3 separate regions of the Homo sapiens genome follow, and regions 1 and 3 are each linked to region 2. The links are contacts of gene promoters, found by promoter capture Hi-C in blood cells and fetal thymus (Javierre and others, 2016). All regions are on one chromosome and are shown on one strand. Each heading gives the region's core, a stretch centred on a gene start or on the middle of the fragment in contact. The rest is flanking DNA. Distances are from core to core; before and after follow the strand shown.

Region 1 (2,700 bases), core at 135-2,634, 1.4 Mb after region 2:
AACAATGCAGTTATTAAATGAAGGTGAAATTTTTCTGGAAATTTAGCCTAAATATTTTCACTGACAGAAAACAAATCTATTTTATTAAAGTTCATTATGAAATTGAAAATCTCATTTCTGATTTACTATAAATTGGAATATGTAGTCTCAATCTTGAAAAGATCAAATTGAAAAAAAATTAGCAGTATGAAAAGAAGTTAAAAGCAGTATGTGAATAGATACATTAAAATGAAACTCAAGGAATGACACTAGTTTTCTTTTTAAAAAGCTCATTTGAAAATGAATTTAAGAAATTACCCTTCACAATTCATTGCAGCATTGGTACTAAAATTCATGTAAAAACTGAGTTACATGGTCACATCAGTCAGTGTGTAAATAGCCAATCAGAATCATTCAACATAAAACTATTTTAGAAACAAATTTGGTTGGTGGAGAAGGGCAGGCAGCAGAATGTTCTTGATAACTATTTAAAATAATTCCTCATGTTTGATAATTGTTTAAAATGATTCCTTGTGTCATCTATAGCAAAATGTTCAAAAGGATGCAAAGAAATGCTTAAGAAGAGCTTTTTAAAAACCATTTATCTGTGAGTAGACAAATACTGTTTTACTTACAGAATCATAATTTTTATTTTTTTTACATTTATTTTATTTTTTGAGATGGAGTCTCCCTCTGTCGCCCAGCCTGGAGTGCAGTGGCACAATCTTGGCTCACTTCTGCCTCCCAGGTTCAAGTGATTCTCCCACTTCAGCCTCCCAAGTAGCTGGGATTACAGGCGTGAGCCACCACTCCTGGCTAATTTTTGTATTTTTAGTAGAAATGGGGTTTTACCATGTTGGCCAGGCTGGTCTTGAAATCCTGACCTCAGGTGATCCACCTGCCTTGGCCTCCCAAAGTGCTGAGATTATAGGTGTGAGCCACAGCTCCTAGGCTAGAATCATAATTTGTCATCTACACCCTGATGTTTATGTTTAGAAGCTAAAACTTATATAAGCATGGGGATAGAATTTGGTTGTTATTAATTACAGTTGATGAATTACAGCTGCGCTTCTCAAAAACCAAACTCTCTGACCCGGATTCTGGGAGTCCCAAGAGCCTTTCACAGGATCTGTAAAGACAAAACTGTTTTGAAAATAATACTGGGACATTATTTGCCTTGTCACTTTCAAAAGTGTACAGAGGAGTTAGGAGCTATGTATAGATGGGTTATTCCAATAGATTGAAAGAGGAAGGAGAATTCAGCTGCCTTCTATTGAATCAAGTATAATAAGATTTGCAAAAATGTAAAAAACAAAGCTACTTACTTTTTGTTTTTTATTTTAAGTTATTTTTGGCCAGGCATGGTGATTTATGCCTGTAATCCCAGCACTTTGGGAGGCCAAGGCAGGAGGATCTCTTGAGTCTGGGAGTTTGAGACCAGCCTGGACAACATAGTGAGACCCTCGTCTCTAAAAAAAAAAATCAAAAAATTAGCTGGGTGTGCTGATGCGTGCCTGTGGTCTCATCTACTTGAGACGCTGAGGTAGGAGGATCACACCCCAGGAGATCTAAGCTACAGTGAACCATGATCATGCCACTGCATTCCAACCTGAGCAACAAAGCGAGACCTTGTCTCAAAAAACAGTTATTTTTCATAAAAAATGTTATTTATGGTTGCAGTAATGGGTGTATTATTTTAAATGAATTAATAATTTTGAAGTTTTCTTTGTAATTTCAAATATGATAAATACAGATAAAATCTCGAGGTCTTCAGTATTTTGAGTGTAAAAGTGTCCTCAGATAAAAAAGGTCGGAGGATAGCTGAATTACAGTGTTGTTTAGGTCTGTACTGTATGGTAGCCACTAGCCGCATGTATCTGAGTACTTAAAATGTAGCTAAGAAACTCAATTTTTAATTTTAATTAATTTAAACTTAATTTCTGGCTGATCTCATCTTGCAGAGGGCAGTTCGCTCTCCCCCTCCGAGAGTGTAAAAAAAAAAAAAAAAGAATTGCCATTCTTTTTCCTTTTTATACTTTATAATGCAAGTATATTGATTAAAAGGTCAAGGGGGAAAAGGTGAAGATGGAGTATTCCAGACCTTTAATTACCTTTTCCCCCTTTTTATTGCCTTCATTTGTATTCTTCATTTACCTATTACTGGTATAGCTTTGGGGCATTAGAGGATAAGTAGTGGTAAATCGGGTGCTGCAGTTGACTGAAGACCTTGTACTATTAGTTTATAGTGTTGCTTATAGGAGAATACCACTATCACCTAATGAAGTGTTTTCTAATTTTTTTTCACTGCTCTCAAACTAAATTGCTACTAAATTTTATTTTTGACTTGAGAACATTTTTATGAACTAGATCCATTGCCAGCATTCTTTTATGCAAAGCTGAGAGGTATGCCTCTTGTCAGACTTAATTACCAAGTTTGGTATTTTGTAACAGCTGTTGAGTGAGTCTGGAATAGTCTTCAGTACCATACAAACACCGGTTGATTAGAAAGATAGAAATGGAACAAGAAGATATTTACCAATATTAAATGAAGGTACAAGCAAATATTATTTTTGGTACTGTAATAAAAAGTAAAACAGTTCTTGAAATTTATTTCAAGGGGGATTGACCAGCAATAGCCACTACCAGTGGTAACTAGAAAATGATACCTGTCAGACTACTTTTAGCTTCATTGTTTCTATTTTTAAAATGAGTTATTTATTT
Region 2 (2,700 bases), core at 15-2,514:
CATTTTTTTTTCCTGGAGGAGGGAAACATACAAGACAAGCTTAATGACCTTAAACTGAATTTTAAAATTTAAAAAGTTTATACAACTGATCAAATCTCAAATTATGTATCTATCATTTCATTGTGTCTGTTTTGACAGTTTAATTAGGCATTTAAAAACAATGGCAGGTGTAATATATACCGCTATTAATTGATGATCAAATGGCCAATTAATCACTTTTTCAAAACTAAAATTCAAACAATGTACTCAAACTATTCAATGGCTTGAAAGAGTAACAGAATGGTTTGCACTTTTTGCTAAATAATTGTATTTCATATCTTAGTTTCCTAACTTCCCATTCTTTGAGAACTGGGGCTCAACAGTTCAAGATCAAGAGGACTCCAACTAATCAACAATTAAAATATATACCAAAACATCAGAGTTGTTTTTATAGAATACACTCTTCTTATCCCATGTGGATAATTCGTTACAACTGTCCCAGTCAGGTGATGCCAGCAAATAAAAACACTACAAACTTAAGTATACAAGTTGAACACTGAGTATATAACACCTTAGCTCATTCTTGATTTTCCATTCAATAGGTCAAGGGCAGAAATACTAACAAGTTTTTGTTTTGCTAAGTACACACTCGATACAACTATATCTTATGCCATAAGAAAATTCTTCAGCTTCTAAATGAAAAAGTCAGGGAGATACTAGTGAGAGGGAGATACTTAAAAACAAAATTGCTCGTCTCCTTCCTGCCTTAAACATTCCCACAGACACGTCACCTCTGGACTAGGGCCTGAGGAGGGACTGTCGAAGTTCGAAGTACCCGCAGGTCAGTGCAGAAAGAGCGCATAGCACAGCTGGGTTGATCATTATCTTGAAAATCAAGCCATCTAGTCCGCGCTCATTAGGACAAAAGCGCAGAACTGCCGAGCAGAGGGGATGCACGCGTAGCGGCGCCTGAGCACCCCAGGGCTCTGGGCGTCTCTGCGCCGACCCCCCTCGCGCGCCGCCCGCGAATGGGAGGGCAGGGCTCGCACAAAGACCCGCCGGCCCAGGCGCCCCCGGGTTCCCGCAGAACCCCGCGGGGCTCGCGAGCCCGCGCGCTCTCAGTGCAGCCGCACCGAGGCATCCGGGGCAAGAGGAAAAGAAACAGCAGCCACCTCACAGGAGCGGAAGAACTAGGGGGAGCAGGAGCTGCCTCGGTTTCCCCACTGCAAACAGCCGGCAACGGAAACGACGGAACACTCCCTTCAAGCACCGCGACCCGGAAGTCAGGGAGCGAGGCCGCGGACCCGCCTTCCCAGGGCCACTGCCCGCCCCGCCCCTCCGGCCTCTTCCGATTGGCCCGCGCTCCACCTATTGCTAACGCTGGAGAGAGGTCGAGCTGAGTGGCCCAGGCGCGAGGGCTCAGATACTAGGGACGCCCAGACGGTTTCCCTGGCAACGGCGGCCAGGAGCCCCGCCCCGCGCCGGAGTAGCGCCTCCTAGCGCTGCGCTGGAGACTTTTCCCTCCTTGAACCTCAGGTCCTTAGCGCGGGTTGACACCTTGTACTATTCCTAGGCTCCAAGCGCGGAAGAAACCCTGTGCTTACGGTAACTTATAGTGCCTTAGTTACAAAAGCGCTTTCATCTGCATTGAATCTTAATTCTGTGAAGTAATTATGAATAACTCCACTTTATGCACGAGAAAAGGGAACCGGCTACTTGACTGTGGCCAATACGTGGCAGATGAGGAAAGTCCATGTGTTGAGAAACGAAGTTTGGACTTTATCCTATAATACTATAGGTCTAAAAGTTAATTTATCAAATGTTTATTCCCTAACTGGTTGTTTTTGTTGAAAAAGTAATTTCGTGATTACTTTTTAAAAACCTCAAGCAGTAAGTTTCTTAATTCAACAAGTATTTGTTGATTGTTAGCACAGGCAGTGTTCCAAAAGGCAGTCAAACACGAAACAAACAGCCAAATATTTAATATGTCAGATGCTACTAAATGTTAAGGGTATAGGGGTTGTTAGCTAAGGGGTAATGGGGAGTCTGTGGGGGAAGTCATTGCATACAGTGTGGTCAAGGAAGTCTCATTATTAACGTGGCATTTTGGCCTCATTGAACGAAGTAAGGGAGTTTACTGTGGGAGTATCTGGAGGGAGAGTGATCCAGGCACCAGAATGACAAGTGCAAAGACCTTGAATTGGGAGGGTTTTTGAAATGTTGGAGGAAGAGCAAGAAGGCCGGGGTGGCTGGAGGAGAAAGAGCAAGGGGGAGAGTAGAATATAAATACAAAGGACAACTGATACTGAAAACAAATTTCCCCATCCACCCAAAACTCCTGATACCTCCGTCACCTTGCTCAGAAGCAACCAGTATTACTTTCTTGTTTCTAATTCCAAAAATATTATATGCAAGTGTATATATGTATATTCCTTCCAACTCCTTGAATTGAAGCAAGTGATACATACTTTCCCACATCTCAACCAGCGTTTAAAAAATGGACTAATTGTAGAACACTAGCCATGTGCAGGGTGCATAAGCCGTCATCCCTGTCCCATACCAACAATGAACTTGGTAATGAAGTCTGGATAGACACTACAATAGTAAAATCACAGAATCTTAAATCTTAAAGAGAACTTATAACTATCATCTAATGTAATTTTTAAAATTATAGATTAAAAGATTTAGAAAGGCAAAGTGCACAGCCGATTTGGCAAATTG
Region 3 (2,700 bases), core at 46-2,545, 1.2 Mb after region 2:
TCATATCCAAAAATCCCTACAGCAATACTATTTGCTATAGTTCTCTAAATTTCTCCTGTAAAGAATATTCTATTTTCCTTCAGAGGAAGAAAATTTCTGGTCTTTGAAACAATCAGTAGCTTCCACCAGAACCTGAGTACCTGATTAGATGAGCCAGAAATAGAGTTTGGCAAATGTTACATTCTTTTTGGGTGATGACAAAGAAATGGCAATTTTAAAGGCTCGGCAAATACTAGTCTGATTCAACATTTAACTGATTCATTTGCTAGTTAAAATGCACCTACAGATAACAGTCTGACCACACAGTAGCCTGAATTGAATAAAAAAATATATATTTACTCTGATCACCACAATTTCACAAATAGAGATCCCATTTGAGTTATACTGTAAGTAACAGCCATGCTTTCAGAAAGTTAACATATCCAAGGCTATATGCTGCCGCTGCTGCTGCTGATGATAGTTAATTCATCTTACCCCATGTGCTTGCATGTCACTATGTTCCAAATGCTAACTCTAAAAAATATTAACCAAAAAGAAAGAAATAAAATCATTTACCTTGCAAACTTTAATTCTACAAAAGGGATATGTTGAGTGAAATTTCTCCATATATGTAAGATGTTCTCTATTGAGACTGTTACATCTTATTAAGTACTTGGATCTTATTTAAAAAAAAAAAAAAGGCTGGGCTTGGTGGCTCACACCTGTAATCCCAGCACTTTGGGAGGCTGAGGCGGGCGGATCACAAGGTCAGGAGTTCAAGACCAGCCTGACCAACATGGTGAAACCCCGTCTCTACTAAAAATACAAAAATTAGCCGGGTGTGGTGGTGCGTGCCTGTAACCCCAGCTATCCAGGAGGCTGAGGCAAGACAATCGCTTGAACCTGGGAGGTGGAGGTTGCAGTGAGCCAAGATCGCACCACTGCACTCCAGCCTGGACAACAGAGTGAGACTACATCTCAAAAAAAAAAACATAGGCCAGGCATAATGCCTCATACCTATAATCCCGACACTGGGAGGCTGAGGCAGGAAGATCGCTTGAGCCCAGAAGTTTGAGACCAACCTGGGCAACATAGTGAGACCCTGTCTCTACAAAAAAATTTTAAAATTTGCCAGGTGTGGTGCTGTGAGCCTGTAGTCCCAGCTACTTTGTGGGCTTGGGTGGGAAGATTCCTTCGGCCCCAGAGGTCGAGACTGCAGTGAGCTGTGATGACACCTCTGCTCTCCGGCCTGGGCAACAGAGCTGAGACCTTGTTCCAAAAAAAAAAAAAGAATATAAAAGAAATTCATGTATTTGTCACCTAGATTTAACAAATGTTAACAATTTGCTATTGCTTCTGGGTTTTTTTTGTGTGTGTGTATAGACAGGATTTCTCAATGTTGCCCAGGCTACTCTTGAACTCCTGGGCTTAAGCAATCCACCCACCGCAGCCTCCCAAAGTGCTGGGATTATAGATGTGAGCCCCAACGCCCGGCCTGCTGCTGAATCTTTTTTTTTTTTTTTTTTTTTGAGACAGAGTTTCGCTCTTGTCGCCCAGGCTAGAGTGCAATGGTGCGATCTCAGCTCACCGCAACTCTGCCTCCTGGGTTCAAGCGATTTTCCTGCCTCAGCCTCCCGAGTAGCTGGAATTACAGGCATGCACCACCATGCCCGGCTAATTTTGTATTTTTAGTAGAGACAGGGTTTCTCCATGTTGGTCAGGCTGGTCTTGAACTCCCGACCTCAGGTGATCCGCCCGCCTCGGCCTCCCAAAGTGCTGGGATTACAGGCGTGAGCCAGGGCGCCCAGCTGCTGAGTCTTAAAAAATAAAAACTTATAGATACATCTTGGTGTGTGGGGAGGTGGGAGGTTGTTGGTTTTTTTCTTTTGTTTTGTTTTTGTGACAGGGTCTCACTGTGTCACCGAGGCTGGAGTACAGTGGCAGAGTCTTGGCTTACTGTAGCCTCACCTCCCAGGTCCAAGCGATCTTCCAACCTCAGCCTCCCGAGTAGCTGGAACCACAGACATGCACCACCACACCCAGCTAATTTTTTAAAAAATCATTTTGTAGAGATAGTTATCTACCTATGTTGCACAGGCCAGTCTTGACCTCCTGGACTCAGGCAATCCATTTACCTTGTTCTCACAAAGTGCTAGGATTAGAGGCCTGAGCCACTGTGACTGGCCCAAGTCCTAAGTTTGATTCATAGTATTCTCATGCATGCTGTATCAATAAAAATAGGGATTTTTTGTTTTGTTTTTTGCATTTTATACTGTTTTTCAATTCTTGCTCTTTTTTTACCTTCCTTGGGAGATGTGATTTTTTCCCAGTGGAAAAATCTTGGACTGAAACTTTGCTTTTCTAGCTGCTAACTCAAATCCTCTCTCTTTTCACCTGGATCATAAATAAGATTTTAGTGTTCAAATTCTGAAGATGCTTACATGAATGTTATGAAGCAACTTCTAACAAAATATTATAGATATTAGTTCCTAGCTGGAATTACTTAATCAGGATTCTTTTCTAGATGCAGTTTCACATACAGCTGGGTACTCCAAGTGTACAGTTCCCATCAGCTCTAATATGGTGAGAAAAATGTGCTTATACTTCATCACTTTCCCAAAATACACACTAGTAAAAGGATACAAGGGCCAAAGCTCTGAAAAAGAACAAAGCAGTCTTTCTCAATAGCAGTACTGAAATTAGTAATTTGCTTACTGGTTC

Evidence for each region. The method cuts DNA at HindIII sites, captures the fragments that hold promoters and counts their contacts. A CHiCAGO score of 5 or more calls a contact.
Region 1: a fragment that was not itself captured here is called in contact with the fragment with the promoter of ELMOD2 in region 2 in 1 of 17 cell types (fetal thymus); the score reaches 6.8 in fetal thymus.
Region 3: a fragment that was not itself captured here is called in contact with the fragment with the promoter of ELMOD2 in region 2 in 1 of 17 cell types (naive CD8 T cells); the score reaches 5.9 in naive CD8 T cells.

What each region holds. Positions count from the first base shown.
Region 1 is chr4:139,077,862-139,080,561 of GRCh38, reverse strand. All of the region lies in intron 4 of ELF2 (E74 like ETS transcription factor 2), which reads left to right. Among named protein-coding and RNA genes, the nearest start is that of NOCT, 63 kb to the right of the region's middle. The HindIII fragment of the contact is 4,123 bases long and covers 1-2,700 here.
Region 2 is chr4:140,522,732-140,525,431 of GRCh38, reverse strand. It overlaps ELMOD2 (ELMO domain containing 2), which reads right to left and starts at 1,264. Exons shown (of 9, transcript NM_153702.4): 1 at 1,152-1,264; 2 at 1-12. The coding sequence starts at 3. RefSeq lists silencers at 903-1,022, 1,213-1,562. The HindIII fragment of the contact is 7,186 bases long and covers 42-2,700 here.
Region 3 is chr4:139,297,247-139,299,946 of GRCh38, reverse strand. It overlaps NDUFC1 (NADH:ubiquinone oxidoreductase subunit C1), which reads left to right. Exons shown (of 6, transcript NM_001184989.2): 2 at 2,504-2,562. Among named protein-coding and RNA genes, the nearest start is that of NAA15, 2.9 kb to the left of the region's middle. The HindIII fragment of the contact is 2,924 bases long and covers 1-2,700 here.